2 separate regions of the Homo sapiens genome follow, and region 1 is linked to region 2. The links are contacts of gene promoters, found by promoter capture Hi-C in human tissues and cell types (Jung and others, 2019). All regions are on one chromosome and are shown on one strand. The core of a region is centred on a gene start or on the middle of the fragment in contact, and the rest is flanking DNA. Distances in the headings are between cores, read along the strand shown.

Evidence for each region. Contacts are between HindIII fragments. The study calls those that stand out against the background at their distance.
Region 1: a contact is called between a fragment that was not itself captured here and the fragment with the promoter of PIK3R4 in region 2, in 1 of the 25 tissues and cell types used here (dorsolateral prefrontal cortex).

What each region holds. Positions count from the first base shown.
Region 1 is chr3:132,168,306-132,173,604 of GRCh38, forward strand. No RefSeq gene overlaps it. Among named protein-coding and RNA genes, the nearest start is that of TRC-GCA6-1, 58 kb to the right of the region's middle. The HindIII fragment of the contact is 7,011 bases long and covers 1-5,299 here.
Region 2 is chr3:130,744,220-130,749,218 of GRCh38, forward strand. It overlaps PIK3R4 (phosphoinositide-3-kinase regulatory subunit 4), which reads right to left and starts at 2,610. Exons shown (of 20, transcript NM_014602.3): 1 at 2,099-2,610; 2 at 267-1,045. The coding sequence starts at 999. RefSeq lists an enhancer at 2,291-2,350 and a silencer at 3,585-3,634. The HindIII fragment of the contact is 7,513 bases long and covers 610-4,999 here.

The DNA.
Region 1 (5,299 bases), core at 910-3,409, 1.4 Mb after region 2:
TCATTACCTGGCTAACAAAATAATATACATCTGTGTATGTGAAACCACAATGGCTGATGTTTCAAATTCTTAATACATTATAATCTGGTTGGATTGAGTGGCTAACAATGCCACAATCCCATGAGGTAAACAAAACATTCATCTCTGGATTTCCTCACCTCAGATCTAAGCATCTCCTGTCCATGCAGTACTGAAGATTTTGCACCATCACTTCTGTTTTTCTCATAAATTCTTTATGAGGCTATTAGTCTCTAGGGTGCTCTTCTGAAACCAGAAGGAAATTTGGCTCACACACACACACAAAAAAAGTTGCCATATAAAGGCAACTGCAAAATATAGTGGGAAGTTGGTGGAGGATGGAGTTTCACTGAGAATGGGACAGCAACATGATGGAAAGAACATGAACTTGAATTTCAGTTCTACCACTTACTAGAAAGATGCCTTTGAACAAGTCTCAATTTCTGAATCTTCATTTGTTGCTCTGTAAAATGGGGTCATATTATCTCACAAAGTTGTCACAATAATTAAAATGAGATCTTGTTTTCTAAGTCACCTGACATATATTAAGTGTGAAATCATTTTTCTTTCTCATTTTCTTTTTTATAACGCTCTCATAAATAGTAGGTGTAAGAGTTCTTCCCAGGATGTCTCATCAGAATTCAGAGAGTTACCTTTGCTGTTCCTTCCAGCAAGATCTGCAGTGTATTATTGCAGAGTCAGCTCGTGAAGTATGCATGAACTCTCTCTAAACTGGTGTTTTTAGCCAAGAAACAAACCACTTCATTGTAGGTGCCTGTGAATCAAAAGGGAAGGTTTCCATAGTACTTTTGCCTGTGCCAAATCCATACATCTGCATTTTTCAAGGGAAATTGCTGAAAAGATATTAAGAGAAAAACTTCCCTATACAGATATGTCTGAAATCCCCAAATGCCACCCTAACAAAATCAATATTTTTATGAAATTGACAAAAGTTTAAAAAGAGAATTTTCTTTCTCCTGCAGCTTTCCTTGATTCATGAATTGCAGCATCAAAGAACTTAAACCAGAAAATACACCAAACTGTTGTTGTCACATTGATTCATGGTTGGTTAGATAAAACAAATAATCTTAGCTTTTAGTATCAACATGTCGAAATTTCAATAGCAGTGAAATATTGTCCATTGTTCATTCATTTATTGATTCATAAAATACGTATTGAATGCCTAACTTGGGCCAGGCAGTGTTCCAGGTGCTGGGAATAAAACAATGAATAGACAGGCAAATCATTCCTGCATTAATGGAGTTTAACAGTCTAGTGAGGAAAGAGATAATAAACATGTAAACGAATAAATAAATGGTATAATTTCAGAGAATAAATACTATGAGAAAATATAACAAGATAACGCAGTTCCCTGGAAGTCAGCACTCAGACATTCTGAGACAATATTGCTTGAGCAGAAAGCTGAAGAACAAAATAGAGTCATAAAAAAATTAGAAGATAAAGCGGTCAGCCAAATGGAACAGCAAATGCCAAGGCCATAAGGCAGGAGCCAGGTAAGCATGTTTAGGGGCAAAAAGAAGGCTACTATACCTGGGCAATAAGGTCAGAGAGGAGGTGGGCTGTGCATCTCAAACCTGATTGTGAATAAAAATCACCTGGAAATCTTGTTAAAATGCAGAATCTAATGGGGGTGGGATGCTGAGATTCTACATTTCTAAAAAGCTACCAGGTGATGCTGACACTGCTAGTTCATAGAGCTCACTTTGAGTAGCAAGGACATAGGGCCTTGCACACCATGGGAAAATGAATTTCCTGCGAGTTGAAATAGAAGGCCACACTTATCTGATGCCTTTACACCTAGAAAGCCCTTCTCAGTTACACAAAGGTCTCATTACCCTTTGGCATTTCCACACACCCACTACAAAACTAAGTACTTGATAAATGCACCATAAATGCCTGCATTCAATGATAAGGCTAATGATCTAGATCCTGCTTTGTGGTTTGCCTAGTATTGGAAAGAGTAGCAAAAATAATGATGTAATGGGGTGAAGCAAAAAGTGGTGAGTGAATGGAAAGACTTTAGATGGGCTTTGAATCATATTTCTGGGTTCAAATTCTACATTACCATCTACAAGGTCTTTGGCAAATTGTTCAACTTCTCTGAGCCTTTATTTTCTCATTTAAAAATAGAAATAATATCCACTTCATCAGGGAGATGTGAAAATCACATGCAATAGTAAAGTGGAAGTTTCTTGCAATAGTAGATGCTCCATAAATGTTTATTCTCTTTTTCTCTTCTTTCCAAGGTCCACCTGACTGTCAACACGATGACATTTGTATCAAATAGCATCACGAATCTGTGAATTTTGTAGAGCACAACTGATTTCCAAATTAGGAATTCAGGGCCCACATCCATGTGAAGCAACTGATTATTCCTATAGCACTTGCTTATTGCTGCTTTAAAGAAAACCTAGATTCTAGCCCTTATTCTAAACTAACCTGCTGGACAATCTTTGGTAAGTCCCTTGTCCATCTATGGACCTTAGTTCATCTGTTAAATGAAAGAGTTGGAGTAGATGGTCCTGCCCAACCTTGGCATCTTCTGACTGTGATTAACTTGGTGAGAGTTCTGAAAGTGGACTTGTTTTCCAGAAAACATAGCAGAATCCTTGTAGCTGAGATATTTGGGTGATGAGATTCAAATTCATGAAGAAGACAGGATGAAACCCTTGTATATTAACCTTGGCCAGCAAATATCCTCATTCCTTTCTCTCCAATCCCATTATTGCAGGGACTAGAGTGCCAGAAATATTATCTTATTCTCACTGGATCTTTCATATTTTTAAAAGCAACTGACATCACAGGAAAAACTTGAGAACAAGACTTAATGGAATCAAATGTGCACTTCTCTGTTATTTTACTTTGTCACATAATAATGTTATAACCCTTTATTTTCAAAAATATCTTTGAGATGAAAACAAATCTATAAAATTGCTAGTATTTTTAAAACTTGAAAAAGTTTAAGGAGGATGTTTATGGCTTTATATCTGTTCTGGTCTTCAACCATCTACTCCTCCAATCCTCCCTCACCCCAGTTTAGGGTTTTTTAAGGTTTTTGTTTGTCTGCTTGGTTTTTATTATTGTTTTTACAATTAAATAAAATAAAAATTAAAATAACCCCAACAGCAAATATCTTCAGATGCTAGAGGATTACAACTCCTGAGAGGCTTAGGTTGAAAAAGGAACTAATGCATCTTGTCTAAAGGTGTATATTTGAGATAAATCGTTTTCCAATGAATACTTAGAAATAAGCAGAGATTATTTCTTAAAAGGTCAGGTGCTTCATCTCAACAGAATGTTTTTCCACCTCTTTCAGAGGAGACCACTTACTTTCAGATATATCAACAAAAGTGCCCCTTCCCTTAGACCTAGCCAAAATGAAGAATCTCTTTATAGCTTTATTTACTCTCTGCCTTTGAGAGTTTTGCTGTTTGCCTTCTTTATCCTGATGCTTTGAAGGCTTGGAGTATTGAATAAATGGAGAAAAGATCTAAGAACCAAGTAATGGAGACACACAGTTCAGTTTCAGAGAGCTCACGGCAACCACAGAACACACGATGATTAAGAGATTAAATTATGTGACCAAAGGTAGACCCTAAATCCTCCAAATTATATATGTTTCCCAGATCCATGGGTCTACAGAGCTGGCAAAGGAGCAGGTGCTGCTTACCCAAAACATTGGCTCCTTTAGCATCATCTGTGCTCTTTCCCAGCCAAGGGCACCTATAATTACCTCCCATAAGCTGAACTCTCAACCCTGCCTCGCTCCACACATACCCACTGCTGAAAATTGTATTGGCAATTAATTTGTCAGGAAAATGCTAGGGGGTGTGAACACTGGTAATTTTATACCATAGATATTCAAATTAAACCTCGAGCCTGAGTATTTTCAGTGTCAAATTGTAGCATAGTTGCAGAAAAAGAGAGAAACACAAACTTCCTCCTGCTATCTCCTGACTAGAGGTGAAAAAGAATGTTCCATGTGGATGTGATAACCTTGGCTCCATCTCTAGGGTTGACTTGGGAACATGAACAACAAAACACACTAATTATGGGTGATACCTTTTGTGCTCCTCTTTGAGTGAAAGGAGATGGGGTTGGTGGTTGTTCTGTATCATTCCTCAAGTGACAAGAATCATTTTAATGACCAGTAGCGTCAGATACCAATAACTTGTAGAAGCCCACTCCAATTCTGCACCTGATTTTCGTGAGATTACTGTGAGAGTACTGTGTTTATAGACCCTTGGTCAATTGACAGCCATGAAAATAGCATAGGACAAAAGAGCACCAGCATAACACCAAACAGAAAGTCCCCCAAACTATCTCATGTACACAAGGAAAGCCTCTGGAACACTGGAGCTGAATCAAAACAAAGAGCTTAAAGCTTCAGATTCTCCTGGGACTATTGTTTTAAAGATTCATTTTGTTAATTATTTTGAAAGAAGAAAGAAAACTAACATTGACAGCCTACTTCAAGTCAAAAATTGTGCATACATTACATCATTTAATCTTTATATCACACTCATTAGGACCCAGGTGCAGTGGGTCATGCCTATAATCAAAATGATCTGGGAGGCTGAGGCATGGTGGTACATGCCTGTACTCCCAGCAACTCAGCAGGCTGAGATGGGAGGATTGATTGAGCCCAAGAGTTGGAGATAGAAGTGAGCTATGATCAGGCCTTTGCCCTCGAGCCTGGTGACAGAACGAGATCATATTATATATATATATATATATATGAAGATGCCTGCTAGCTGCTCCCACAGAGAAGAAACAAATGTGAGTAAACACTGGCTCTTCAAGTGGATATTCTAAGAGAACACATTGCGATTCACTAAAGAAGCAATGGGACCCACAGAGAACAAAGAAGAACAAAGTGAATGATTACAGCCACTGGGGATCCACAATGTCCCCACAAACCCTTTGCAATCCTGGGCACAGGAGAACTCCCCCGACCCATCCGGGCCTGCAGACCAACAAGAAGAACCATCTGGAGTCCATGCAGAGATATCTCTCAAGCCCACATGGAGCACCACAAGCACTGGATCCCAGAGCAGTCTGACACCAGCTGTCAATGTGCTGCCAACAAGGGAAGACAGGCAAGACAGGCTCTTTTGCAAGCCCCTAGGATAGCTGCTACAGCCACAGTACTGAGGAGCAGACCAACTGCAGACCCCACCTCTGCTGCTCCTCACCAGGCAGGGACCACCAGTTGAGGCTCCCAGCACAGCTGCCCCTGCTTGGATACTGTAGAAAGTTG
Region 2 (4,999 bases), core at 1,360-3,859:
CCTAGCACTTAGGACAGTGCCTGACACATACAATAAAAGTAGGCAAGCAAATATGTTTATATGTTTGTGTAAATAAACTGCTGTTTGCATTTCCTAGGCATTTAAACATATCCAATGCAGGAATGCTGCCTCTAACTGAAATAGCGTCTGAGGACAAACCAAGACATTAACTTTTCAATATCTGGTGACTAAAAAAAGCCACATTTCTGTTTAACAGTTAAAAGAAAAACACATGCTCCCTTAGCAAATGTGACCCACTCAAATACCTGCTGAAAAGATGTCCATTGCTCTCTTCAACTCTCCTCTTGTTCTCTGATTGCTATTTAAGTCTACAAGCGGAGTTGAAGGATCTCTCATATATTCTAACTCAGTGGCAAACATCCCACCATCAACAAAACGTTCAGGAGCAATATAGCAAGTTCTCCTCCGTGATGTGTCAAAGAAATAATTGAAATCTGCCGGGTTGTCTTCTGGAAGATAAGTGGGCTTAAAACTGGCAAAATCAGTTAGAAGAACCCAATTCCAACTGGTGACCATCACATTCTCAGTCTTGATGTCCCCATGACGAACTCCAGATTTGTGTGCTTGGTCCACAGCTGTCAGGATCTGGAAAGCAATCCAGCGCTTCTCAATGTTATTCAAGAATGGACGGGTACTGATGCGATCATAGAGATTGTCTCGCACATACTGCCTAAAGAGCATAGCTGCTTTCTCAGATGCTTTTTCTGATGCTTTCTGGAAAGGTAGACAATTCTGTGCAGAATTAAGCCTGATTTTCAGTTCCTCCAGCTCTTGTTTATAGCTGGTTAAAGGCAATGTGGGATCCTGAATTGCAAAAACCTTCACAACGACCAGGCCTTCTCGGTGCTTGGCTCGAGCAACTTTAAAAAACCGAGTACTCCCCAGGCTTTTATCATATTCAAAGTCATGAATATCTGAAAAATAACTCTCTACAGAAAGGATCTGGGAGGGAGCAATGCCAGCAAGCTGATTTCCCATAATGGCAAGCACCTCTGTGGTCTTTAGTAAGGTTAGGATATAATACCTGTTTAAAATAAAAACAAATGAAGAAAAAAGACAAGAAACAAAGAAGCTGTGAAACACCATTATTCCATTATTTGGTCTCTTCCAAAAAGACAGATGCAGCATACTTCTCTTCCACTAACAGCACTGTACCTAGCCTTCTGGGGCAGCCTCTAAATTTCACACACATTTATCTAAAAAGACCATGTTATTTTCTCCAAGAAGACCTTGTTATTTTACCTAAAAATACCCTGCTATTGCGCATCGCCATTTCCAGGAGCTGAACTATATTTAGATAGGCCTCTTCAACTTTAAGCCAAAAATGTTAGTTTGTGTTATTTTCTCATATTTAAATTTAAAATATTAATGAGCCTTTACTATGTGTTCCGTGCTGTGCTTGGGGCTATGAGAATTACAAAGTTACCATATGACATAGTTCTTGTCCAAGAATCTGTAGTTTCTTGGAAATAAGAAAGAGACACATTAAAAGCTTAAAACTGGCCGGGCGCGGTGGCTCACGCCTGTAATCCCAGCACTTCGGGAGGCCGAGGCGGGAGGATCACGAGGTCAGGAGCTCAAGACGGGGCTGGCCAACATGGTTAAAATCCCGTCTCTACTAAAAATACAAAAATTAGCCGGGCGTGGTAGTGGGTGCCTGTAATCCCAGCTACTCGTGAGGCTGACGCAGAATTGCTTGAACCCAGGACGCAGAGGTTGCAGTGAGTGGAGATCCCGCCACCGCACTCCAGCCTGGGTGACAGAGCGAGACTCCGTCCGTCTCAAAAAATAAAAAAAAAAAAAGAAAAACTGAAAACTGAAAAGGTCAAACTAAGATCTAAAAATTCAGTTAACTCCTGGACACTTCCTGCCTAATTCCAGTGTGCCCTCTCACCCAGCTAAAAGAAGGTGCAAACTTCGCTGGTCTGCAACAAGAAACCTTGCCACAGATGTTAAAGAAAAGCAGACCAAAGTATACACTAGCTAAACGTACCCCAGGGTTCTGCTAACTCAGGTTTTGCAGGAAATAAATGCCACACATATACACACACGACCTTGAGCACACATAAACATTTACCCTAGGCCTCGGGAAAGTGTCAAAATCGTTCAGAGGCTCACAACGAGGTCATAGTAGACTACTTCGGGGACGGGACGGGAAAACGCGTCAGCAGCGGGGAAGTTGTTTCTACGAAGGGTCTTTCTTCATAGACAGGAGATGGGCTGTTGGTGGAGGGGCGCAGAAAAGTCCCGATCTTCAGGAACCCCGGTGGTCCTGGGAGGAGAACTGGGAAAGCTCTCGGGGTCTCAGCAGAGAGAAGAAGCCACGCTAAAGAGTCTCCACAAGTACCCCGGGATTTGACCCCTCCAGCCCCCTAACCTGCCCTGGGGGACATGCGTTCCCGGGCCTCGTCTTCCTCTAGCGCGGATCGCTACACCCGTCCGAGCCCTCCTCGAGGGCCTCACCACCGGGCGGGGGGAGATGGAACCCGGGAGAGAAGTGCAGACCGCCAGTCCCAAGAAAACACTACACTTCAGCTGCTGCAGCCCCAGCAAACGCCGAACTCCCGGGAAAGCAACCGGTCTGACCTCACTTCCTGTCGCCGAGCGGAAGTGACGAAAAAGAGTGAGCCTTGAGGAATTGCCAGGGTAGGAAACCGGTTGCTAGGAAACTAGGGAAGGCGTGGTCTTACTTTGGGCGAGTCTACAGGGAGAAAATGATGCTCTGACAAAGATCTATTCCCCTTCCTGCTCTTCTACCTTTCATTCACGAACGCTGAGGTTTCTGACATCCCCTAGAATCTGCTCAGACACGCCTTCACTCCCAGGACAGCAGAACAGAGTTAAGAGAACTCAAGAATATTTAGGAAAACTAATATATCCCAAGCTGGATTTTTAGAGTTCTGGTGAGATATAACTTACATACCATAAAGTTCACCTGCTTAAAATGTACAAAGCAGTAGTTTTTAATACATCTATCGAGTTGTGCAATCATCCCTATAATCTGATTTTAATTTTTTTTTTTTTTTTTTTTTTTTTTTTTTTTTTTTTTTTTTTTTTTGAGGCTGAGTCTCGTTCTGTCGCCCAGGCTGGAGTGCAGTGGAGCGATCTCGGCTTACTGCAACCTCCACCTCCCGGGTTCAAGCGATTCTCCTGCCTCAGCCTCCCGAGTAGCTGAGACTACAGGCGCCCGCCACCACGCCCGGCTAATTTTTTTGTATTTTTAGTAGAGGCGGGGTTTCACCGTGTTAGCCAGGTTGGTCTCGATCTCCTGACCTCGTGATCCGCCTGCCTCAGCCTCCCAAAGTGTTGGGATTACAGGCGTGAGCCGCCGCGCCCGGCCTTTTTTTTTTTCTTTTGGAGACAGTCTGGCTCTGTCACCCAGGCTGGAATGCAGTGGTGCCATCTCGGCTTACTGCAAACTCCACCTCCCGGGTTCAAGCGATTCTCATGCCTCTGCCTCCAGAGTAGCTGGGACCACAGGCACGTGCCACCACGCCCAGCTAGGTTTTTGTTTTTTTTTTTTTTGAGACGGAGTCTCGCTCTTGTCGCCCAGGCTGGAGTGCAGTGGCGCGATCTCGGCTCACTGCAAGCTCCGCCTCCCGGGTTCACGCCATTCTTCTGCCTCAGCCTCCCGAGTAGCTAGGACTATAGGCGCCCGCCACCGCGCCGGGCTAATTTTTTGTATTTTTTTTTTAGTAGAGACGGGGTTTCGCCGTGGTCTCGATCTCCTGACCTCGTGATCCACCCGGCCTCTCAAAGTGCTGGGATTACAGGCGTGAGCCACCGCGCCCGGCCGCTAGTTTTTGTATTGTTTGTAGAGATGGGGTTTCACCATGTTGGCCAGGATGGTCTGGATCTCCTGACCTCAAGTGATCCGCCGCCTCGACCTCCCAAAGTGCTGGGATTACAGGTATGAGCCACCGCGCCCAGCCTGCCTGATTTTAAACATTTTCATTACCCCAAAAGGAAACCCTGAAACCATTCGGAGTCACTCCCTGTTCTCCCCCATTTCTCCTCCCCCTTCCAGCCCTAGGCAATCATTAATCTACTTTCTGTTTGTATACACTTGCCTTTTCTGGACATTTTATATATAATATGTGGTCTTTGTGACTGACTTTCACTTTGGGTAATGTTTTTGAGGATTATCCCTATTGTAGCTTGTATTAGTACTTCATTTATTTGTTGTTGCAAATAATTTTGTTTACCCTTTTGTTAGTTAATAGACATTTGAGTTGTTTTACTTTTACGTTATTATGAATAATGTTCCTATGTTCATAGCATTAGTCTATAAGTCTTTGTGTTGCCATATGTTTTCATTTCTGTTGGATAGATACTGAGGAACGAAATTGTGGGCTCATATGGTAGCTCTATGTTTAACATTTGAGAAACTGCCAAACTGTTTTCCAAAGTGCAGGCACCATTTTACATTCCCATTAGCAATATATGAGGGCTCTAATTTCTCCACATTCTTGCTGACACTGTTATTATCTTCTTTTTTTATTATCCTGGTGGCTGTTAAGTGGTATCTCATTGTTGCTTTAATTTGTATTTCCCTAATAACCAATTCCGTTAAGCATCTTTCTTATTGTGCTTGTTTTCTATTCATATATCTTCTTTGAAGAAATGTTTATGATTTGACTATTTTTTAATTGGTTTATTTGTCTTTTTATTATTGAGTTGTAAGCATTCTTTATATATTCTAGATACAAATCCCTTGTTGGAGATATTATTTGCAAATATTTTCTCTCTGTTGTCTTTTCACTTTTTTGATAGTATTCTTTGAAACACAAAATGTTTTAATCCAAAGCTGAAATCGTTATTATCCCTGCAACATTCCCTCCTCCCTTCTTCTCCATCTCAATATGCAGCACTACTACCCACTGAATTCCTCAAGACTATAAATTTGGAACTCATTAAGTCATCCTTAACATATTCCTACTCTCCCCCTCCTTCCTCACCACACTCATTCCTCCCATTC